4 separate regions of the Homo sapiens genome follow, and regions 1, 2 and 4 are each linked to region 3. Evidence: promoter capture Hi-C in 16 types of primary human blood cells and fetal thymus (Javierre and others, 2016). All regions are on one chromosome and are shown on one strand. Each heading gives the region's core, a stretch centred on a gene start or on the middle of the fragment in contact. The rest is flanking DNA. Distances are from core to core; before and after follow the strand shown. Region 1 overlaps HS2ST1 (heparan sulfate 2-O-sulfotransferase 1). Region 2 has its middle 16 kb from the start of LINC01140. Region 3 holds the start of CLCA1 (chloride channel accessory 1). Region 4 overlaps LINC01140 (long intergenic non-protein coding RNA 1140).

The links. Contacts are between HindIII fragments. The CHiCAGO score rates a contact against its expected background, and 5 or more counts as called.
Region 1: a contact is called between a fragment that was not itself captured here and the fragment with the promoter of CLCA1 in region 3, in 1 of 17 cell types (neutrophils). The highest score is 7.4, in neutrophils.
Region 2: a contact is called between a fragment that was not itself captured here and the fragment with the promoter of CLCA1 in region 3, in 1 of 17 cell types (neutrophils). The highest score is 5.9, in neutrophils.
Region 4: a fragment that was not itself captured here is called in contact with the fragment with the promoter of CLCA1 in region 3 in 1 of 17 cell types (neutrophils); the score reaches 5.1 in neutrophils.

What each region holds. Positions count from the first base shown.
Region 1 is chr1:87,032,279-87,038,065 of GRCh38, reverse strand. All of the region lies in intron 1 of HS2ST1 (heparan sulfate 2-O-sulfotransferase 1), which reads right to left. Among named protein-coding and RNA genes, the nearest start is that of LINC01140, 95 kb to the left of the region's middle. The HindIII fragment of the contact is 4,220 bases long and covers 1-3,383 here.
Region 2 is chr1:87,110,496-87,116,100 of GRCh38, reverse strand. No RefSeq gene overlaps it. Among named protein-coding and RNA genes, the nearest start is that of LINC01140, 16 kb to the left of the region's middle. The HindIII fragment of the contact is 3,080 bases long and covers 109-3,188 here.
Region 3 is chr1:86,465,686-86,471,474 of GRCh38, reverse strand. It overlaps CLCA1 (chloride channel accessory 1), which reads right to left and starts at 2,548. Exons shown (of 14, transcript NM_001285.4): 1 at 2,342-2,548. The coding sequence starts at 2,503. The HindIII fragment of the contact is 8,280 bases long and covers 1,192-5,789 here.
Region 4 is chr1:87,134,309-87,139,589 of GRCh38, reverse strand. The region is part of intron 2 of LINC01140 (long intergenic non-protein coding RNA 1140); the gene reads right to left. Among named protein-coding and RNA genes, the nearest start is that of LINC01140, 7.2 kb to the right of the region's middle. The HindIII fragment of the contact is 797 bases long and covers 1,427-2,223 here.

The DNA.
Region 1 (5,787 bases), core at 24-2,523, 570 kb before region 3:
GACTAAAAAACTATTGGTTAAAGTACATTAATCATTAACAATATAAAGATTTTCACTGTCATATGCCATGCAATTTTATTTCTAGGCACCTACTAGAAAAACATTTGCTTGAATGTATAAGAAAATATGAAGAAAAATGTTCACAGATGAACTGCTCATAACTGCAGACAATCTAAAATCTGTTAGAGATATATTATAGATATATGCTACATAGCAGTTAAAAGAATGAACTACGTCTGGAAGTATCAAGATGGCTAGATATCAGAATTATTGAGTGAAAAAATGCAAGTTGTAGAATACATTCACTATGATAACCATCTCTTCAAATAAAAAATTTAAAAATGTATGGTTACACAAATGAGTAAAAATACCAAAAAAGTACTAGGAACATACATACCCAATTTATAATAGGTTACTTTATACAAGACAGAGGATCAGAATTGGAGATGGTGGTAAAAAAAAAAAAAATTCAACTTTATTTGAAATATTCTATTTTTAAAGACATATTATTGATGTAATTTTAGAAGGATAGCTAAATATGCAAAAATATTAATGTTTGATAATTCTGACATAACCTTTGGACTTTTCTGTAATCTTTTAATTTCTAAAAATTAAAATATATATATTAAAAGGCCATTTATTGTACAGATTTATTGGGCCATATAATTTTATAACTACAACCAAGTAGAATAAATGAAAACATTTTAACTTATGCTTTTCAACAGCAAGATACACTGAGTAATTATAATAGTTATCCAACTCATAAACTCACCAAACTTCAATGGCTGTTTCACATCACAGGGAAATATTTTTTCACTTTTTTAGCAAAACAGAACAAGATATGCAGAATTCACAGTATTATAGAATTACATATTAAACATTCACATACTACTTTCACCACCAGAAGAAAAGCATATTTCAATGACGATAAAGCAAAAGTTGGGAGCAGATTAAAAAAAAAAGTCAGCACCCATGAATGTGATAAATCAGCAAAACAAATGAATTGATTTATGATATTCACTTCGTTAGAACAGGAAAAAGAACCCTAGCACTTTATTACCTAAGGTTTAATTTAACAAATACTATTGGGAAATGTAGTGATATATGCAAGTGAATGTTCCAGATATTTGGAGCTTATCCTTTTAAGCATCAAAACCTTTCAGTTATCCATGTTGATGACAATCTCTCAGAAAGGACATACTTCCCTCAGTTTTAAAATACATGTATTGAACATAACCAAGGTTTTCCTTGAAAATGTGTGGGTCAGCATTCATTCATTCATTCAGCAAATGAGAACTGTCTTCAAAGAGTGTGCAATGTTGACATTGTCATCCTGATATCAGTTTGGTCAAGGTAATTTTACAATTAGTACACCAACTGAATTAAAAATAAAATTCTACAAAATTGGAAATATCTAAACACCTTTTCACTTCATTCCAGCATATCTTTTATTTTTTCCCTACACAAATATACTAGCCAAACTGTTACATTCCTATAACCTAGTCCATGTTTTCTCATCTTTGAGTCTTTGCTCAGTATTCATTTCACTTGGAATATCCTCCCTCCAATTGCTGTCAAAAAACCTATTCATCCTTCAAAGCCCATCTCAAATCTCAACTATAATATGAATAGTATTTCTTATCTTCCCAATTAAATTAACAGTGCTTTAAAGTCTTTTGGTCTCCCAGTGTGGCAATTCCTCAAGGATCTAGACCCAGAAATACCATTTGACCCAGCAATCCCATTACTGGGTATATACCCAACGGATTATAAATCATGTGCTATAAAGACACATGCACATGTATGTTTACTGCAGCACTGCTCACAATAGCAAAGACTTGGAACCAACCCAAATGCCCATCAATGATAGACTGGATAAAGAAACTGTGGCACATATACACCATGATGTGGCCATAAAACAGGATGAATTCATGTCTTTTGCAGGGACATGGATGAAGCTGGAAACCATTCTCAGCAAACTAACAAGAACAGAAAACCAATGTTTTCACTCATAAGTGGGAGTTGAACAATGAGAACACATGGACACAGGGAGGGGAACATCACACATCGGGGCCTGTCAGGGGGTGGAAGACTAGAAAAGGGATAGCATTAGGAGAAATACCTATTGTAGATGATGGGTTGATGGATGCAGCAAACCACCATGGCACGTGTATACTTAACGTAACAAACCTGCAGGTTTTGCACATGTATCCCAGAACTTAGAGTATAGTAATAATTAAAAAAAAAAAAAAGTCTTTCGTCTTCTCTGAACAACCTGTTTTAATTCTTAAACAACAATACTGGGAGGTAAAGATTTACACAACAAATACTAATTTATTTCAAACTAATGGGTCATACTTAGGATACTTTCTTATAAAATAAAAATAATACCAAACTTGCAAGGTTATTGTGGAATGTATTATGTACAGAAGATGTCTATATCAATGCTGGATACACAGTAGATGCATAAGAAATTGACAAATATTATGGTCTACACTATAAGTGAAAAATCAAGTCAAGAGGCTGCATACTAAAAATTATTATGATAACACATTCTCCCATGGGCATGTACAAACATCAGAAAATCTTCTAGGCCATGAACTCAACTATGTGATATCTCCAAGAGAAAAAAGTAACTTAGAACAGGACTCATTTATTCTCCCTGAGTACATGAAAAGTCTGAATCCTAAAGAAGAATAAGTTTTTCAAAGAAAGATATATTTAAAAGAATAATTAGAAGTACTACTTACAATACCGATAGGTTAAAAATTGTTCATAGGTTAATTAGTTCCTACTGCTGCTGTAACAAATGACGACAAAATGACTAGCTGATAGGAAAACAAATTTATTATCTTAAGAGTTCTAAAGGTCAGAAGTCCTAAAATCAAGGTGTCAGCTAGGTTATGTTCCTTCTGGAGGATCTAGAAGAAAATACATTCCCTAAAATCCTTTTCTAGCTCCTGGGAGCCACCTGCATTCATTCCTTGGCTCATGGACTGAGCCTCCATCCTCCAGCTGCACAGCATCTTAAAATCTCTCTCTCACTGACTAAGACTCCTGCTTCTGTCATTACATTTCTTTAGGACTCTGATTCTCTTGCCTCCCTCTTATAAGGATACTTGAAATTACATTGAGACTACCTACATAATCCAGGATAATCGCCCCATCTCAAGATCCTTAATTTAATCACACCTACAAAGTCCTTTTTGCCATATAAAGTGACATAATCACAGGTTCTGGGGATTAAGATATGGACATATTTAAGGAACCATTATTTAGCTGAAAACAATGGGCATATCTGGCTCTTTAATTTTATAAAGATTACTAATCCTATTACTCTTCAATTCAAAACTATTTTTTATTGTCTTTTAAAAGGGAAAGCTTCGTACATATACTTTACACTGTAACAGTTTCTCAACTGAGAGAATTTGAAAGGCTTTGAAACCTCAAGATTCTTTCAAAATGTGATTCTGATTTCCTAGAGCTCATTGTACTAGCTAGAGTACAATATTTGCATTTTCAAAAGTAGTTCGTTGAATGGTTCCATATTTACAAAACAAGGGTAATTTTAGTGAATTATGTAAAATCTCACAGTGAAAAGAATTACTATAGCTTGAACAATAAAGTTATCAATCCATTGTTAATTTATTTTCTCCCCTCCAGAATCTGGGAAAACCACTTATAATAGTTACTCTGGAGACCACAGATCACAAAAAATTGAAGTGTGGTGTTGGGGAGACTTCAACTGCTTTAGAATGATTCTCCAAGTGTATACTGTAAATTTGCTATTCTCTTGTAATATTATATTTGCAATGTAAAAGAATTTACATTTTTGTTTGTCATGAAATAATAATTTACTGTGACCTTCCTCACTGGTATTTCATCAAAGCCATTCTCACCATTGATTCTATTTTTGTTTTGACACTTTGAAACAAATAAAAGGGTAGATGGTCTACTTATTTTTTAGACTTACCAAAGAACTATTACTACATCTTTATATTTAAAAATTAATAATCCTCAATATTTGCAAAATATTACTCATTAGACAATATGTTAGCTACTGTGTCTGAACTTCTAAACCAGTAAAACTGTAATTTTTCCATTCCTGTCCCTCATTAAGCTCATCATTGCTCACTGTGGTGGTATACTGTTATTCACTATAAGGAATTTTAAGTCAACAAAAGTCAAAGTATTATGCAAACTAAAAAATTTACCACTTTAAGGCCGGGGGCGGTGGCTCACGCCTGTAATCCCAGCACTCTGGGAGGCCGAGGCTGGTGGATCACCTGAGGTCAGGAGTTTGAGACCAGTCTGGCCAACATAGTGAAAACCCTGTCTCTACTAAAAATACAAAAATCAGCTGGACGTGGTGGCAGGCGCCTGTAATCCAACTACTGGGGAGGCTGAAGCAGGAGAATTGCTTGAACCCGGAAGGCGGAGGTTGCAGTGAGCTAAGATCTTGCCATTGCACTCCAGCCTGGGTGACAAGAGTGAAACTCAGTTTAAAAAACAAACAAACAAACAAAAAAACAAAAAAACACTACTTTAAAAATTTATATAGAAGAATTAGAGAAAGAAGATAATTTCAGGTTCTTACTATGGAGCTGCTGTGAAGGCATTTCATACACTGCACAGAATCTAAGTAATGTAGTTATTATGTGACATGGTCTTTGAACTCTAACAGAAATTCCGTATTTCTTTCTAGCAAAGATTCCTCATTACCTAATGGGGTTCTTGGAGCTCATCCATTCTAGTTCACCAACTATGTTTTGATAATTCCCTTGAGGAATATTTATGAATTAATGGAATCATGTCTAAAATATACTGCAGTGGGGAAAGGTACAGATGGAAAAAGATTAGACATGGGTCAGTAATTTCTGTAGCCTGGTGATAAATACGTAGGGATATATTTTACTATTCTACTTATGTATATTTTGAAAATATCCATAACAATTCATAAATATATATAATCTCAGGTTCTACAATTTATTAAAACATTTAAACAATGGCATTTATCATTATTATTTTTTAATCTGGAGGTTCATCATGATTGGAAGATGGGGTTTACAACACACTAAATGAATTAGGAAAAACCAAAGACTAAGAATGAGTCAGATGAAAGGGAAGAAAACTATTTTTTGCAAAGGACAGTAATCACACATGGTCTAACTGAGTCAGCTGTTTACCCAGAAAATCTGTGGAGTCAACCCATCATATAGCCTATTCAAAACTTTTAATTATACTGGGGTTCCATATATACATTTCATAGTTTTTTTAGGCCAACAATATCTGTTATTAGGCTTACCTTCACTGTCCAAATAATTGAAAAAAGAACAATGCATTTTTACTAAGAACAAGAACTCAAGGTAGATAATAAGCAGGACTATGAATAAGGAGAATCCTGATTACATTGTAAATTAATCTCTGATAGTAAAGAGCTGTAACTGCTGATCTGGAACAATCTGTGAATACTTGTCCTGAGGTACTTTTTAAAGCAAATAATTTCCTATAATATTCTATAAATGAAATCATAATAATAAAAAAGGGAGTTTCAAACGTATTGAGAGAAATCAAAATTGACCTTAATTTATTTTGACAGTGGGGGTTCAGAATGAACTTTGTATTAAATCAGCAGTATAATATTCAGGTCTCTTTTTCGTCCTTTAACAAATAAAGTTATACAAGGCTGGGAAAGAGACCTGACACAAACACATATCCAAAATAGATTAATTCTCACCCAACACTGTTTTTAATACTACTGTCTTCAAAAATAAAGGTTACAAGTTA
Region 2 (5,605 bases), core at 399-2,898, 650 kb before region 3:
AGGTCTTTGAGCTGCAAAACCAACGAAAGATAAGATGGTGAAACTGGTGGGGCCTCAGGCAATAAGAAAGCCTATCTCCTTTGTCCACCCCACTCACCCACCAAAGCTTATGAATCTTTAAAGATCCATCCTTCAAAGCAACTATGTAAGGCCATGAAGGAGTAGACTTGGAATAAGGAATGTATTTTCCTTCAGTTTCTATTTTTTGGAGAGTAGTGTAATTCTTGCATTTGTTAAAGACCTTGGGGCTCCTGGAAGAAAGGAGATTTAAGTATAAAAGCCATTATAATAGCATTACTATTAGCAGTAGTGAGTTTGGCATGACGCCTAGGCCACCCGGACTCCAGAGTCCTAAGTTACTAAATGGGAGGCTCAGTGTGACTCAGATGGATCTGATCTGTTAGCCAGGGAGGTGCTAGGAAATCTCCCTAAACACAAAAGGAATGTTGTGGTGAGGGACTGAGCAGGAGGAGGGAGACAGGAAGAGGCAAGAACAGAGGGTAAAACCAAATTCAGGGATATCTGGAGAGCTCAGAGCAGGTGCCACTTATGAAGTGAGATTTCTGGAGTCAAGAGGCTGTCCTACCCACCTGCCACCCCTCCTGCCTAAGCATGCCTGGACTCCCATGAGGCAGAGGTTTTACTCCTTTGGCTTCAGGCCTCGTATCCACTGTAAAACTTCTGCTCTGCCCTCCCACCCTGAAAAGGTTAGACTGGCTGGTCATGGATATCTCTGAACCCCTCTTTGCAGAAAGGCCCTCAGGCATGTGGAGGGAGAGAGCTGTAAGCAGCATGCCACAGTGGGAAGTGAGGGGATGGCTGGGAGGGCTGCAGGGACACCAGGAGACAACCAGTCTTTGCTGGGTGCCCATGTTGGATCTGGGCCAAGCCTGCTCCATACAGCACTTAGGAGGAAGCATCAACTTCTCAGCACCTTTCACCTCCCCAGAACAGCTTGGTCAACCTCCTGCCATGGTGGCTCTTGTGCAAAGGCAAGGTTTGCACATGGAGACCCTGCTAAAACCAGAGAGCCCTGGGAGAATTCACAAGACACGCTGGCTGAACCGCTGGGAACTGATGACTTGAACTTGGCCTGTACTCACTCCCCAGCACATTGAAAAGTGGACTCAAGGTGATTTTCCCAACATTGAATCTGGGAATCCTGTCAGTCTTTAGACATCACCACGACCACCGAGAATAACTAACTGCCATTTATTGACCTGGGACTGAATTTAGGGACTAGGAGGAAGCATTTCAAGAAAACAAAATGGCCTAAATTTGCCCCTCCAAACTCCCAGTCCTCGTCGTTGGAGGCCGCACTGAGTTGCAGCCATAGCTATAGCCCACATGGGTGACTGCCATAGCCCTAGGTCATGCTTTTCCTGTTGCCAAGCCCTGTGGGGCTGTGTAAAAGAGGCAGAAAAGACATGGCAAGACTTTTTTTTTAGACGGAGTCTCACTCTGTCACCCATGTTGGAGTGCAGTGGCGTGATCTCGGCTCACAACAGCCTCCATCTCCTGGGTTCAAGCAATTATCCTGCCTCAGCCTCCTGAGTAGCTGGGATTACAGGCGCACACCACCACACCTGGCTAATTTTTGTATTTTTAGTAGAGACAGGGTTTCACCATGTTGGCCAGGCTGGTCTCGAACTCCTGACCTCAGGTTTCACCATGTTGGCCAGACTGGTCTCGAACTCCTGATCTCAGGTGATCCCCCCACCTGGGCCTCCCAAAGTGCTGGGATTACGGGTGTGAGCCACTGCATCCAGCCTATGGCAAGACTTTCAAAACAACCCCCCACTACTGCCTGTCACAGCTGTCAGAGCCTATGCAACAGGATGGTTAAGAGCAGAAAATTTGTAGCTAGACTTGGATTTGAATCCTGCTCCACCACTTTCTAGCTGTGTGACTGTAAGAAAGCATCTGAACTTCTAATTCATTCTCATCTGTAAAATGGGGCTGCTAGTAGTACCTTCCTCAGAGGATTAAGAGGATGAAATGAGGCCAGCCATGGGGGCTCAAGCGTGTAATCTTAGCACTTTGGGAGGCTGAGTCTTGAGCCCATGAGTTCGAGGCTGCAGTGAGCCATGGTTGTGCCACTGCACTCCAGCATGGGTGACAGAGTGAGATCCTCTTTCTCTTAAAAAAAAAGGGGGGATGAAATGAGTGTTAACAAATGCATAGCACTTGGTACAGTGCCGGCACATAAGAAGTACACTATACATGGGCAACAATCTTCCTCTTTCAAAAAGAATGTGTTGAGGAAATGCATTGCACCCGAAGGCTCAGTCCACTGCCCTGCTGATCTCTCAGTGTGTGTGGAAGGAAGCCTATAAGCATTGCTATGCACGAAGATCAGTTCTGATTTCCCTGGAAGTCCCTTGAGCTATCGACTAACCCTTGGTCTGGGCTCTTGCTTCTAGGAGAAAAAAAAATGCAGATATAATTTGTGAGAAACAAGTGGGCACTTCTGTTTAAGCTGCATGACTGGAAGAGTTCACACGTGACCACAGACTAAGAATCTCGGCTGGGAAGCACTGCCAATGATGACAGCAACAGGGATTTCCAAGTAGCCACAAGTATTCCCACACTACGTCAACCCATGGCTCCACAGATATTGCCAAGCCAGGGCAAGGAGCCCTCTTGCCATTAAATCCATCACAGTAAACTATTAAGTATGACCAAAGAACACTGGGACCAGAAAGTCCAGATGAAATGCACTTAGTTTGGGTAGCCATTTTGGATTCTCGGCTCTGTCCCTGAATTTCCTGAGCACACTAGTAGCCACGCTGAGGTTTAGCCCCCACATTCACCTCACACAGAAAACAGAAACTCATTAGAAGGGGTGGCATTGTTTGCCTTACTCCAGAAGAGCACATTGGGACTTTTTTCTTCTTATTGACCTGCTCTGTGGTCCCCCAAAACGATATTTCAGAGAGGAATTTACCAATAATGAAATATATAAGATACACTATAGTTTATAACGCAGTCCAATGTAGAAAACAGATGGTGTTGGAGCCAGACTGACCTGGGTTCACATCCTAGTTCACAACTTTTGTTATGAGAAGCCTTAGGTTACTTAACCAGCTAGGTTAAGCTCAACTAGAGCTTCAGTCGTCTCATCTGTAAACTGGTGCTCTAGACCAGTGGTTCTTAACTTTAGTCTTGGTCAGAACCACCTGAAAGCTTATTAATAAACATAGTGCTAGGTCCTACTCAGAAGGCTAGGGCCTAAGAATCTGCCTTTCAACAAGTTCCTAGGGGATGCTGACACTATTGGTCCAGAGATGGGATTATAGCCTAAGAACCACTGCAATTGTTTAATCTGTATTACAGCCCTTGCTGACTTTGAGAGACAGGCACATATCAGGAAGGGCATCAGGGTTTGATGGACTAGGAATCTTGAGGGCTGGGGAGCCCATCTTCCACCTCCTAGCTGTGTCAGTTTCAACTGTAAAACGAGGATAATGGTATCTACCCTTCCACGTGAGAATCTAATGAGAGGATAAATGTGAAATGAAAGCGCCTTGTAAATTATAAAGTTCTAAACAGTTGTAAAGGATTGAATATGAGGATTACTGAAAGGTTAAGCTCATGGTGCAGAGAGAGCCTGTAGTGCAGTGCCTGGCAAACAGTGGGGGCTCAATAAATACTAAATGTAGAAAAAAAAACCCACAAAAGTAAAATTTGCCACTGACTCCATGCCAGAGATTTCAGTCTTTGTCATATATTAAAATAAGAAAAGGTAATAAAGTTGTAACACATGAAGTTCACATTTCAATCGTGGGTGGCAAGGACCTCCTTCCTGGATTCTGATCCAATATTATTCAAATCTCCACTACTTAATGTGGAACTACTGTGGATCTTGATAAGAGGAAAAGGCTGGGCTCTGTTTCCACTTTGCTCTTGGCAGTCCTCAGGCCTCCAGTATAACTTTCTTAGAAAATGAATAGGGCTGGCTCCCAGAGAGACTAATCTAATCTCATCTTGTCCACTCAGAAGATCCGTATCAAACATTACAGACTGTCTGACTGCAGGACTACAGCAGGAAGGAGCATCTAATTCCATCTGGATTTGGATCAGTGATTAAACGATCAAGTAGAGAGCCATTAGCATGGTAGAAATAGAAAAGCAAAATATAACTGGCCTATTTCTTAAACATTGTTCTCATCTAAGGTGTTATTCAAAGAGCCCCCACATGAAACAAAGAGCAAGCCTGCGAGAGAGGAGTTTAAAGTCCACAGCCTCCTTTAAAAACAGACATGAATGGATCAACATGCTGCATTTTTACTGTTTATGGGCATGACAGTCTGATCAGATAACCATGCTATGCCAAGAGACCTAATTAGTAATCCTCTGGCGAATTTTAAATTACTTTTAAAGGAAAAAAAATATGTCTCTGGTAACTCTTGGTTGAATAAAATGTCACTCATTTCTGATCATCCATTTTCAGAAAGGCTCTGCCCGCTTCAAATGGAATTACTGGTGAATTCAGTTACGCAGAAAAGGTATATTTCAGCTAATCAATTTTGAGAGATCCAACAGTTTCAAACACCTAAGACTGAAACCTCTACATTGTTTTTTTTTACAGCACAACCTGGCTGCCTTATCAAGAGGGCACCCAGAATCATCAAAATGGGTACAAATGAAATGTTATTGCCACAGGCACTTTAAATACATCTCTCAAGATGCTACATGAAATACCCAGATTTAGGGCAAATTGGCTCACATTTGTGAAAGCAAAACAAAGTTCAGAAACCAGATCACTTGGGGACTGTAGGTCTACTCTTTGCCAGATTTTAACATTTAATTAGATACAGGTTAAAGCTTTGATAGTTTAAGGCGGCACATGCTTAAAAAATCACAAATTAGCAAGTTTGACAGTTCTTTGATGTTAAATTTCTACTAAGAGACTGAGTGATTTTAAACTGGAAAGAAAGGAGAGCGGAGGGAGAGGGAGAAAGAAAAGAATGAACTGATTCTAGAATCCCAGAATAATCACTCTTCGATCTGCTGCTCAGGGACAGAAATTTCTTAACATTCTTACAGTTCAAAATACTTATGTTGTCTGTTTCATGGAGGGCGTATTTAGCAAGAAAACCTAGACAGGGGTCAGTTACTGCACTTACAGCTCATCCTCTTCCTTTTCCAGCATCACCGATAGACAGGCTGAAGGCTCTAGAAATCTAGTTGCCCACACCCTTGATCTAAAAGAAAATTAATCCATATACGTTTTCTCTATTTCCCTGTAAACGCTGTCAGTGCTAATGATGTGAAACATTTCCAGGCATGACTTTCATTTCTAAACTTCAGGTTTAGAGAAGTAGAGGTAGAGGCTTAGAGTTGATGTGTTTTATTAGACGCCTTCATCATCAAACCAGAGAACATCAGAAAAGTTTCTAGGGGGTTCTTTCTAAACTCTAACCCAGGTCACAAAATCTGGAAGAGCAAAAGAGGCAAGGAAGCCAAACATCTGATAGGGAGACAGTGAATTCTTTCTTTGTGATCCTATGTTCTTTGGGAAAACACTAGTCTGTTTTATAAGCTTTGACACAGGAAGTAATCATCATTGCCTAATTGAGGCAAAAGCAAGGGGTGCTGAAAA
Region 3 (5,789 bases), core at 1,299-3,798:
CATCTGTTTCAGATTTTCAGAAAATGACCTCATATCCTAATACATATTTAGACTCTTAGGCTGAGAGAAGGTTGGGGGTGACAGTTTATAGAATGGGCTAGAAATTCCTTCAGGACAGGGACAGTATATTGACCACTGGACTTCTAGTACCTGACATAATTTAGATGCTCTGTAAATATTTGTTGAATGAATAAACAAACAAATGGATAAATAAAGTGGGTTTAGTAAATGGCAAAGTGGTATAGAACTGCCAAGACAGGCACAGTGCCTGGGGTGCTGAGCATTGCAGAGACTCCAAAATAACCCTACTGTGTACCTTCTGACGTGCGTGTGTGCGTGTATGTCTGCGTGTGTGCATGGGCGTGTGTGTGTGCACACGAGCTTGTGCGTGTGGTGTGTGTGTATGTATATTTGACGGGGGAAGAGAGAGTTTCTCTCTGACTCTCCCTTCCTCATCTTGTGACGTGTACTCCCCCTGCTAATATTAGCAAGAATGCAGTGGATGGAAGTGGTGCAGAGCGATTAACTGCTCTTGTAGGTGGGGAAATCTGGGGACTGTCCTGCTGAAGCAAATATTTTAAAAGCTGAGTTAGGGGCTTCTGTCCCCACAGGGGCACCAGGGGAGAGTCTCTCATCAGCAAGAAGGTTGTTGGAGTAGAGGGAGGAATGGTTGGGAAAGGTGGCCAAGCCCTCAACGAGGTCCCTCAACTCTGCAGATCTGGAACATCAAATAGGAAGGAGTTAGGGACTTTGAGCATTCTATTCACTAAAGTGTTCTTGTTACAGAGAAGGAAATGATGGAAGCCAACTTATCTCACCCCCAACTTTAGGATCCATACTGGAAAGACAATTTAATAATTGTAGCGAGAAGTACGTATCTCGGGAGGAAAACCTCCAAGGACAATGAAGTAGAAGCACTTTGAAAGCTCTAGTCACTATATACTGTAGATACAAATTACCACGGTCACTGAAGATGAATACGGCATCTACATTCTCCTTCTGGCATATTGCTGAACCCCACTGTCTAGCCAGAGACTGAAACACACTGGTCACATGTTTGCTGATGCCACTTCCAAATTTAGAAACAATCAAAAACTCACTCAACATTTTAGATGATTGAGAGATTCAAGAGGTCTGAATCTCCCTTTTACCACAGACAGCCTGATCCTCTTTGGGTTAAGTAGGTAAGCTTTATGGTGAGTGACACCCTCCACTCTGTTCCCTATCCCTATCCCCTACTGCTGCAATTCTCTAACCACACACTGTAGAGATGGTTTTCTTTCCAAACATTATCTTTCTATATTTGCCTCTGCTTAGAGCAGTGGATCTCTGGGGAAATCCCTCTGGGCCCTTGTTCTATTAATTTTCCATCTAGAGAGAGCCAATGACTATATCCACCATTTATTGAGCTCTTACTATGTACCAGGCACTATGCATGCATTTTTAAAGTTATTTTTTAAAGTTCTGAGATAAATTTAGATGAACAGAAGACATGCAAAGTATTGCACCGTATTCTTACATACTCCACCCAGCTTCCCTTTATATGCATGCATTTTAAACTTTGATCCTCACAAAATCTGATAAGGGAGATATTTATTATTATTATTCCCATTTTACAGACTAATACTGTTACTAGTACAGCACTGCCTCTGGATGTGTTACAGCCAGATTCCAGGGCGGTCTTTTATAAAGCATTTCCCTCTTAGTTTTAGCTGTTTGTTGTTGTACAAGACCTTCTTCAATGGTATAGATACCCCTGCCAGGACAGGAAGTCTTCTTCCTTTCCCTTCTGCTACATAAGAGGTAGCAAGAAATCTCTGAAAGGATCCCTTGAATTGGGACTGATAAAATGCAAGGTTTTCTCCCATCAGAAGGTCAGGGTTGTTCTTATATCAGAGATTTGCATCTGGGGCTCCTTTTAGGATCACAGGGAAGGGGGTTCCTATTAGGAGAATAAAAGGAGAGTCTGACTCGTGCCAAGGGTAAAATCAGGCAAAGGATCTGTGCATCTCACAATATCTGTCAAATGTAGCTGACTCTGCCTTACTATAGAACTAAATAATTTTCAGTGACATAATCCACAGCAGTACATATCAATTTATCATTTATCAGTTGCCAACAGTATATCACTCTGAGTTATGTGCATTGCATTCATTATCTTATCTGACACAAGAATCCTAATGGTTAACTTGTTATTATTTCCATTTTACAGATGAAGAAACTGAGACTTAGACATAAAAATACATGCCAGTGTCGTGCAGCTGGAATAGGGCACTCATGTTCTCTCTATCACAACATTATGCTATTTTTAAAAAAGTATGGATAATTACTATGAACTTACCTTTATTTGTTGAATGAGTGTTTCATCTTCTGGCACATTGGGGTCGATTGCAACGACAATGCCTTCATAGCCATTGTTGTTCAGCTGAATGAGTGAATTACTCAGGGCCCCTTCTAGAAGGTGAAGAATCAAGATGAACACAGAACTCTTAAATGGCCCCATTGCTGTACATCTCCCTGTGATTTCTCTCTTTGGAAAATGCGGGTTACGAAGGTGTCTTTCTTTACCATTATATATATACAGATATGAAAATATAGACACACGTTTCCAACTTATCGGAAGTGGTTTATCACAGGTCTTTAACCCCCTGACCTGATGTGTTTTACTATTGCTCTTGTCTTCAATAGGAGAATGATAACAATATCTTAGTCTCAAATTGCGTACTTGTAAATATTTCCATCTGCCTTCAGCTGTGCCAGATGCTGGGGTAAGGGTGGGGGAGCCCACATCCGGTTCCTTGGAAGCACTCACAGGTGACAAGCAGCTTGGCCGCTGATAGGTTTGTTTACTTCTTGGAAATGTTTACCAAGCCATGGACACCAACCCACCCAAAGCCCCCAACCCCCTCCTGCCCAGGAAAATCCAGACTGTTCTGCTTATTCAGTAAACATTTTGTAAGCCATATATTCAGTTATCCCTCATGGTGGTCTTTACCACAATGGTGGTTTTGTTTACCTTGACATAACCTCAACACCTCTTCATGCTCCCCTTAAACAAGAAAATATTCAATTATATTCCACATCCATTTGTACCAAAAGCATTAGCAAGTGATGTAGATATTATTGACTATTTTATAATGGAGAGTAAAGATAAAATGTATATCTTACTTTGCAAAGCATACTCCAAGTTCCTCATCAGATTTCTGCTTTCTCTATTGCATAGCTCCTACCAGTCAATAAAATTCCAATTAACATCATTAAATTATTTTGCTGAAACTAAATGTCCCTAGGAACATGAATTATGGGCTGTCAGTGGCTGTGTATATTCTTTCAATTTGCCAAACCTCAGGTGGAACCTCAAATTGGCCCCCCATTTTCTTGTATTGAAATACTTGAAATATCTCTTCGTTCATAAATTCATTTGGTCTTCAGATGGTGATAAGCATTAATTTCATCTTGTCCATATGAACTTTAAAGTAGTTTTTTCCAATTCTGTGAAGAAAGGCATTGGTAGCTTGATGGAGATGGCATTGAATCTGTAAATTACCTTGGGCAGTATGGCCATTTTCACGATATTGATTCTTCCTATCCATGAGCATGAAATGTTCTTCCATTTGTTTGTATCCTCTTTTATTTCCTTGAGCAGTGGTTTGTAGTTCTCCTTGAAGAGGTCCTTCACGTCCCTTGTAAGTTGGATTCCTAGGTATTTTATTCTCTTTGAAGCAATTGTGAATGGGAGTTCACTCATGATTTGGCTCTCTGTTTGTCTGTTGTTGGTGTATAAGAATGCTTGTGATTTTTGTACATTGATTTTGTATCCTGAGACTTTGCTGAAGTTGCTTATCAGCTTAAGGAGATTTTGGGCTGAGACAATGGGGTTTTCTAGATATACAATCATGTCATCTGCAAACAGGGACAATTTGACTTCCTCTTTTCCTAATTGAATACCCTTTATATCTAGCATAATCTTAAGCAGTTAAAAGGGAAACACTGAAATAGAGTGGAAATGCTCAATTATAATGTGGTTGTCCAGATGATCCAAAATATGCTTTTATATCAAAATACATATACATTTATTATTCATACAAAATTTAAAAATGTAGATTCCAAGATATCTCAGACCCCAAATGTATGTGTCTTTGCCTGGGTTCCCTAAAAAACAGAGCCTAAGGCAGGCATATGTGCTAAGAGTTTGAGAGTTTAATCCCAGAGCAGTGAGAATGAGGGAATGGGGAAATGAGTCAGGGAAGGCTGGGAAGCAACTAAAGGAGGAGCATTACTAAGCCCTGCAATGGAGACACCCAGCAGGCCAGCCCACAGGCGCCCTTGCCTTCCTGTGTGGGTTGTCTCCTAAGGGGCTGTGCAAAGAAACCACGCCTTGGAGCAGCCCTTTGGAGAGAGGAAGGAAAAGCGTTTGGCTCCTTCTCATCTTCTACAGGTGATCATCTCCCCCCAGACTTCCTGGCTGTGTCATCCAGCCCTTTCGGCAGTCGCTTAGAAAGAGAGACCCCCATGCCTTGTGGTATGTGAGGAGCCAGGGGTTACAAGAGGTGGCAGCTTGACCTCAGGCAGTGGAACTGCTTGGACCTGCAAGGAGTGGATAGTGACTGAGGTGGAGCAAATGACTGAGTGCCCGGTAGACAGATGGAACCAAGCAAATCTGAGGAGGTTCAATAAGAAGAGTCTGATACAGTTCACTCTGAGCTGCTCAGATTCACTCTAGTACTTTCATCATATCAAGCTCCAATATTATAATGTAGGATTTGTGTTTCTGTGTGTGTGAGCACTAGCTGTCTCACTTTTCCCCTGAGAGAAGGTACAAGTTTAATCATTTACAGAATCTCCTTCAAAGTGGTGGTCAATTGCAATCTGCTCAAGTGCATAAGGCAAGAAGGTTATTGAAATAAATTGCAATGCCTGCTGTTACAGCTGGTCTCAAGGCTTTTATAATCTCCCTCCTTTATCACCTATTTCCCTCACTTTTACTCAGCATTTTGGTTGATCTGTATTGTTTGTTCTCTTGTTGGGGTAATCCCACCCTTCATCCCTGAGTGGGGTCTTTAGTTGTCCTGCCCTTGTTGGCTGCAGCTGCTGCATTTCCCTATGACAGAGGTCATCTGGTGTGACAGACTCAGTTTAAGTGCTCTCCAAATTTGCTTGGCATTCCCTGCAAGCTGGGTCTTGGCTGCTTGCTCAGTGGAGAGTCCTGGCTGCTGCTAAAATTCACACATCTCCTAATACCAGTGTTTCTTCTTAGCTTTCCCCAGGAAGAGGGCCTAGTTTAGCATGGCCTTCACTGTGCAGATTGTGGGGGCAGCTCCTCCATTCTCTCCCGTTCCCAAGTCTGGATTGAATGGATGTGTGGAGGCTTTTGGCTCAGATAAATCACTGCACCATGGTACTGGGATCTGGCTTTGTCAGAGGCAGCCCAAATGGGCCAAATAACAGAAACCAGAGATGCAGGGAGTTAGCACCCTAAGGGACAACCTTTCACCAAAGAATATTTCCAGCATTCTAGAAGTTTCCTTTGCATTCCCTTCCAGTAAATCCCCCCAAAAGATAATTGCTATTCTGACTTCTATGCCACATAGGTTAATTTTGCCTGTTTTTGAACTTCATATAAACAGAAATATGCTGTATGTACTCTTGCATTTCGCTATTGTGACATAACATTTTCTATATGAGATTCAGCCAAGTTGTTGAATGTAGCAGTAATATGTTCTTTTTCCATTCCATTCCACTGTAAAAAATACTGCAATTTACTTACCACCCACTCTTGATGAACATTT
Region 4 (5,281 bases), core at 576-3,075, 670 kb before region 3:
GGAGAGGGGCAGGGTTGGTGAGCGTGCTTCACAGTATCTTGCAAGGGGTGTGGCAGTGGCCATCCTCACCCCAGGCTGTCAGCGCTACCATGCACTTAGCAGGCAACTTGGTACAGGAAGCCTCAGGCTCAACCTTAACCAAGATGCCCAGTACATCTTGACAGGGAAGTTGCAATACCCTTGAGGGTTACCTGCTTGCCAAGGGTGACAGCACCAGGCCTCCGGGAAGGAGAGACACCTGGCTGCATCTTCCTACCCCTAGCTGAAGCATGACACATCAGTCCCATGGCTATGGAGAGGAGGAGCCAGCTGCCAGTGGACCACATGTGTCCCAAGTGTTAGGGAGGGCTCCAGCTCCCGTGAAAGTCTGTACTTGTCCCACAAGTGTCCTGCCATGAGGACCAGAGGGATGTGACATTAAAGAGGATACAAAAATGCCACGACAGATTGAGAGGCTGCAGAATGAAGGGAAACGCTCTGTATTCTAATGCCTTTAACAGCACCTTTTTTCCTGGTTTTTGAATAAATGGCCCCACATTTTCATTTTGCACAGGGACCCCAGGATCCAGTCCTAGCTGTAAACATGACCCTTCTAAATTCTGACCCTGACACACTGCTTACCTGTGACACTCCTTCAGTGCTTTCCCCTTTCCTCTAACTCAGAGCAGAAAGTTCGAGCCTCCTGGCTAGGCCCCCATGTCTGGCACTTGCTGATTTCCTCAGCCCCATCCCCTTCTGCTCACCCACACTCACCCTCCGCCTTGGCCATCTTGAAGCATTAGCAGCTTTTTGAACATGTCTTGCTGCTTTACGTCACTGCTCGTCACGTATTCTTCCCTCTGTTACCATTGTCTACCCCTACCTTTATCTGACTGTGTCTACTCAAGCCTCACTTCCTTCCATGGCCTTCCCTGACTACCTCAGCCCCCACCAGGCTCCCTCCCAGGAGAACTGTGTCATGGCCCCGATCACTGTGTCCTAGAATCACAGATGTTCCTACCTGGCTTCACGGTCATATGTATGCAACATGATCCTGATGACAGGGACCATATGACCTATTCCTAGCTCCAGCAGAGGGTCTGACACTTTCAGGGAGCACTGAATTCAACTCTAAGCTGGACATGCTAGTTCTCTGCAATTCCCTTCATTGCCTGCTTAGTGAGATGATCTGAATCAAACAAATCAGTCCCACTGGCCACTTTCTCCTGAGAGAGGAGGCTTTTCAATCACCAAGATGGCCAAGGCACCATTTTAAACCTACTTTATGGGCCTACCACTTTCTGATCATGTCACCTGCAATGATCCCATGGGTTTCCATTCTTGCTTATCACCAAACCTCAGCCACAGAAATTAGAGATCAAAAGCACTGGACTCATTTTTCTTATGAGAAAAAATCATTTTTCCCCTTCAACACATTCATAAAGCTTTAACAATGCAATCCTAGTACATGGACCTTGCCTCCCCCACTTTCCTATGGTGATCAATGCCCCATACAATGGGTTTCATGACCTTAGACCCGGAATCTAAAGATAGGCTATTCAATCATCTGGTCCAGATCCCTCATCTTACCACTGCAGACACTGAATGCAGGGGCCAGGGGTTGTCTCCATCCCAACCCAAGCCCATGCTCATCCCGCTGTTCCATGCAGTCTCTGTGAACTGGGAGTTATCGCCAGGCTCCTGATTCACCCTTCACTTCTCTGAGAGGATCCAAGGTCATCCTTCTTGTAGGTTTCCTTTCTTCAAGATCTCTAGACTATAATATTATCCCATCAATTGTCCAGTAACTCAAAACCTACCAGCCATACTAAACTAACCCATGATTATGGCATTCTCTGTTGCCACTTTTCACTGGTGCTTTATTTTCCTCCTGAATGTTCATCAGGGAGTTTGTTAAAAATTGGGAAGGGGCAGGAATGAGGTTATTGAGCTGTCAGTGATCAGACAATACAATTTACCTCACAGCAACAGTTTACTTCACTAAATTGTGGGGGAGCCAATGAGAAAGGAATGATCCTGGTTGATGCGCAGTATTGACACAGTAGCCACACAAACCACATTCAGTATCTCTGTAAGCCAGCTGCTGGCTTGTTTTGGGAGCAGTGTAATTGCTGCTGCCATCATTTCATGAACGGTCCCCTCTTCATCCCACCACCATTCATGGATTAGTTAGTAAACTAGCAGGACTGTTTCAGACAGAGAGCAATCTGCAAATCAGAAGCTTTCCAACTAGACTGGAATGGGTGGCTTTATTAGACACATTCCCAGTCACCTTGCTAACAGCCCTCAGGTTTCAGAAATGTCATTAAATATTCCATTCAAGAAACACAGGAAACCCTAAATGCGATCTACCTCATCCCCATCCCCACCGCCTCCCCCACACCATCTCCACCCTTCAGGCACATTCTAAACTTACAGAAATGTGGCCAGGAGAGAGTTAGACTATTTTGTGTGATGCAATACAGCCTGTTCAACTTTTGCATAGCAATTCAGCAAACACAGTTTTAAGCATTCAATTCTACTTCTACAGCTTCTTAAAATTCCCTGCAATATAATTATACTGATGGGAATGCAGAAAGATAATTGCTTTTAGAGGAAAGTTTCTCCTTTGTTCCATGTTCATCTGGCTTCCAGAAATGGAACAAGAGCCCTTGAACAGCAGAAATACGCATCCATGTGTCTCTAGTTATCATTTATTTACAAAGATAGACCTTGACAAATGTAATTTGTTCAATAAAATTAAAAGGATGCACGATAATTCACTTAGACAAAGAGACTTGAAAGGGGACGTCATCGGCAGCAGCGCCGTCCATCATTCCAAATGATCAGCTGACTTTGAAGAAGTGGCAGGTGTTCCCCTTTTGGAATGCAGCATTGAAATAGTATTTAGAAGGGGGAAAGAAAGAAAGAGAGCTAGGAATTGGAGCAATTTTTTATTCAGGCAATAATTATACAAATTAGATCTATGAAAGCCAGAGAATGACTGTGCCTTGAACCCTGTCTGTGTGCATAGAACAATGGGGAAATTAATAATTAAATCTATTACATATGCTCATAATTCAATACAAAAGATACCTCAGTAGTTCAAACACTCCTGTATTTTCATTTGAATAAGGCTTTCACACATGCTCATTATATATGTATTATATTTTAAATTTAAAAGCTTATTTTGTTGCCTTTATGTTTGAATTAATAAGGGCGCACTTTAATGCACTAATGGGGAATTGCATTAGCTGGCTTTGCAGACATAACTTTGAAAATCTCCCTGGTTTCCCAAGGGTGAAATCAATTTGCCCCATAACGTGTTGTCTCACAGACACATCTGGAATCTTGGAAGAATAGCTCCCCTCTACAAGCTTCTGATTTGGGCCTCCATATTTAAAAGAGGATCCCCTAGTAGATACCCTTGCTAAATTGAACAGACACATCGAGATCATCTTCTGGATTTTGCAATCTTTTAGCCAGCTGACATGCTTTTTATGCCTGGCCCATGTTATTTTCCCAGAGAGCAAAAATAATTTTTCTGCAAAAAAGTAAAAGTTTATTTTTAATCCAATAATTCATTTCCTCCCTTTTTAAAATTTTTCTTTCTCACTCCCTCTGTCCCTCTGGCTTTCTTTATATTCCTATTTTTAACTCTTCATACTACCTCTGGCTCCATGGAGAGTGAAGAAGACAAGGAAATTAGAAAAAAGAGAGAGAAAGAAAAAGTATATACTATGGTGGGCAATGATGGAAAAGGCCACAATTGTTGAGGAACCAATTAATAGCATCAGAAGTACTGGAGTTCAGGACAGGGGGATTGGTGGTTGAACTACAGCACTGAAATCCCAGAGAGCACAGTGAATTCACAAAGTGAGAGTCTCAGTTTTCTAAAAAAAAAACAGGGTGACTCCACTGGAGGGTCAAATGCTAAAGTAATAATCAATGGAAAATACCCATCCCTCTGCAACCCAGAAAAGAGACAAAGAAGTCAGTATCTGTGAGAAAGAAAGAGAGGAAGCCTAACCAACTGCTCACATCTCAGTGCAAAGCGGCTGCCAGCATACCCGGACAGCCCGGCACATGCGGAGGCACTTGCCGCTGCTGCCACTGCGCTATGACAAGGAGTTTTGTGCCTTCGGAGGAGCGCCAAATCCAATGACGCTAATTGCATTGCAGATTTCTAGCATCATTAGCAATTCTTAAAATTACATTTGCCCTGCTTAAGTTCTCTATTTCCAGCCTGGTATACGACGGGGGCAAGTCTCTAAAGGGGATATGGGTTACAGAGAAATTTGATTGGACATGCTGGCTTCAGGTGTGCAGGTGGAGGCTGGCCGGGGGGATTCACAGCCCAGGAAAAAATGCTTGTTTGTCTTATTTTAAATGCTGATTGCCGGGAGAATAAACAAAACCCGCAGCTAAATGGGCCTTAAAGGAACACTGGGAATTTTGGAAAGAAAAAAGCCTTACCGAATAACAGTTGGAACTAGCCCTGTGGGTCCTATGGTGACAAGCACCATCCAACCACCCCGAGCGATGGAGTAACTTGCATTTGAAATAGTTGGTGCAGAAATAACCACTCTCCTTTTGTTTGTTTGTATTTAAAACAAATGAATAAAATCCAGATGAATTGGTGTTTTTGCTTTGTTTGTTTGTTTCCTTAAAGAGAACATATTTGCTCATTAGGAAAGCTAGACAGCCAGCTCAAGAAACAAAAGCCCCAAGTCTGTGTCTCTCCTGAGCTTTGGCAAACACTTTGCCACAACATTTCCCGGCCCAAGTATCTCAACCCTGCTGGGAAGGGAAAGGCTATCCCAAGAGCAGAGCAGAGGTCAGGATCCGCCTCTCCGAGGCTGCTGGCTCCTGAAACTGGGGCAGGGCTCTGTGCAGTTGGGACTTCCATTGCAGAGTCATTGAGAGATCACCAACACCAGCCTCTCCCAGAGTGGAGGGGTGGCCTCTACTCTGAATCTAGCAACAGAAAGGGGACCAGCTCCTGGGTATTTTTTCCAACAATTTATCCCATGTAATGAAATTGCTAAGCCTATATATTTATAGACACATACATACACACATATATATATACACACTTACAAATATGTATTATATATACAGCTCTATGTATAAACACTCACATAGAGGGAGTGTATAGCTTTTAATTGGGCCGTCTTCTCAAAATAATTAAGCCAGTTTTAATGAAATACTGTTTAAGGCTGCTGGCAAGCAAAGAAGCCATCTTTAGCAGAGCATTAATAAACTGAGTCATTCGCACAAGGGAATGGCTAGCTGTATCAGT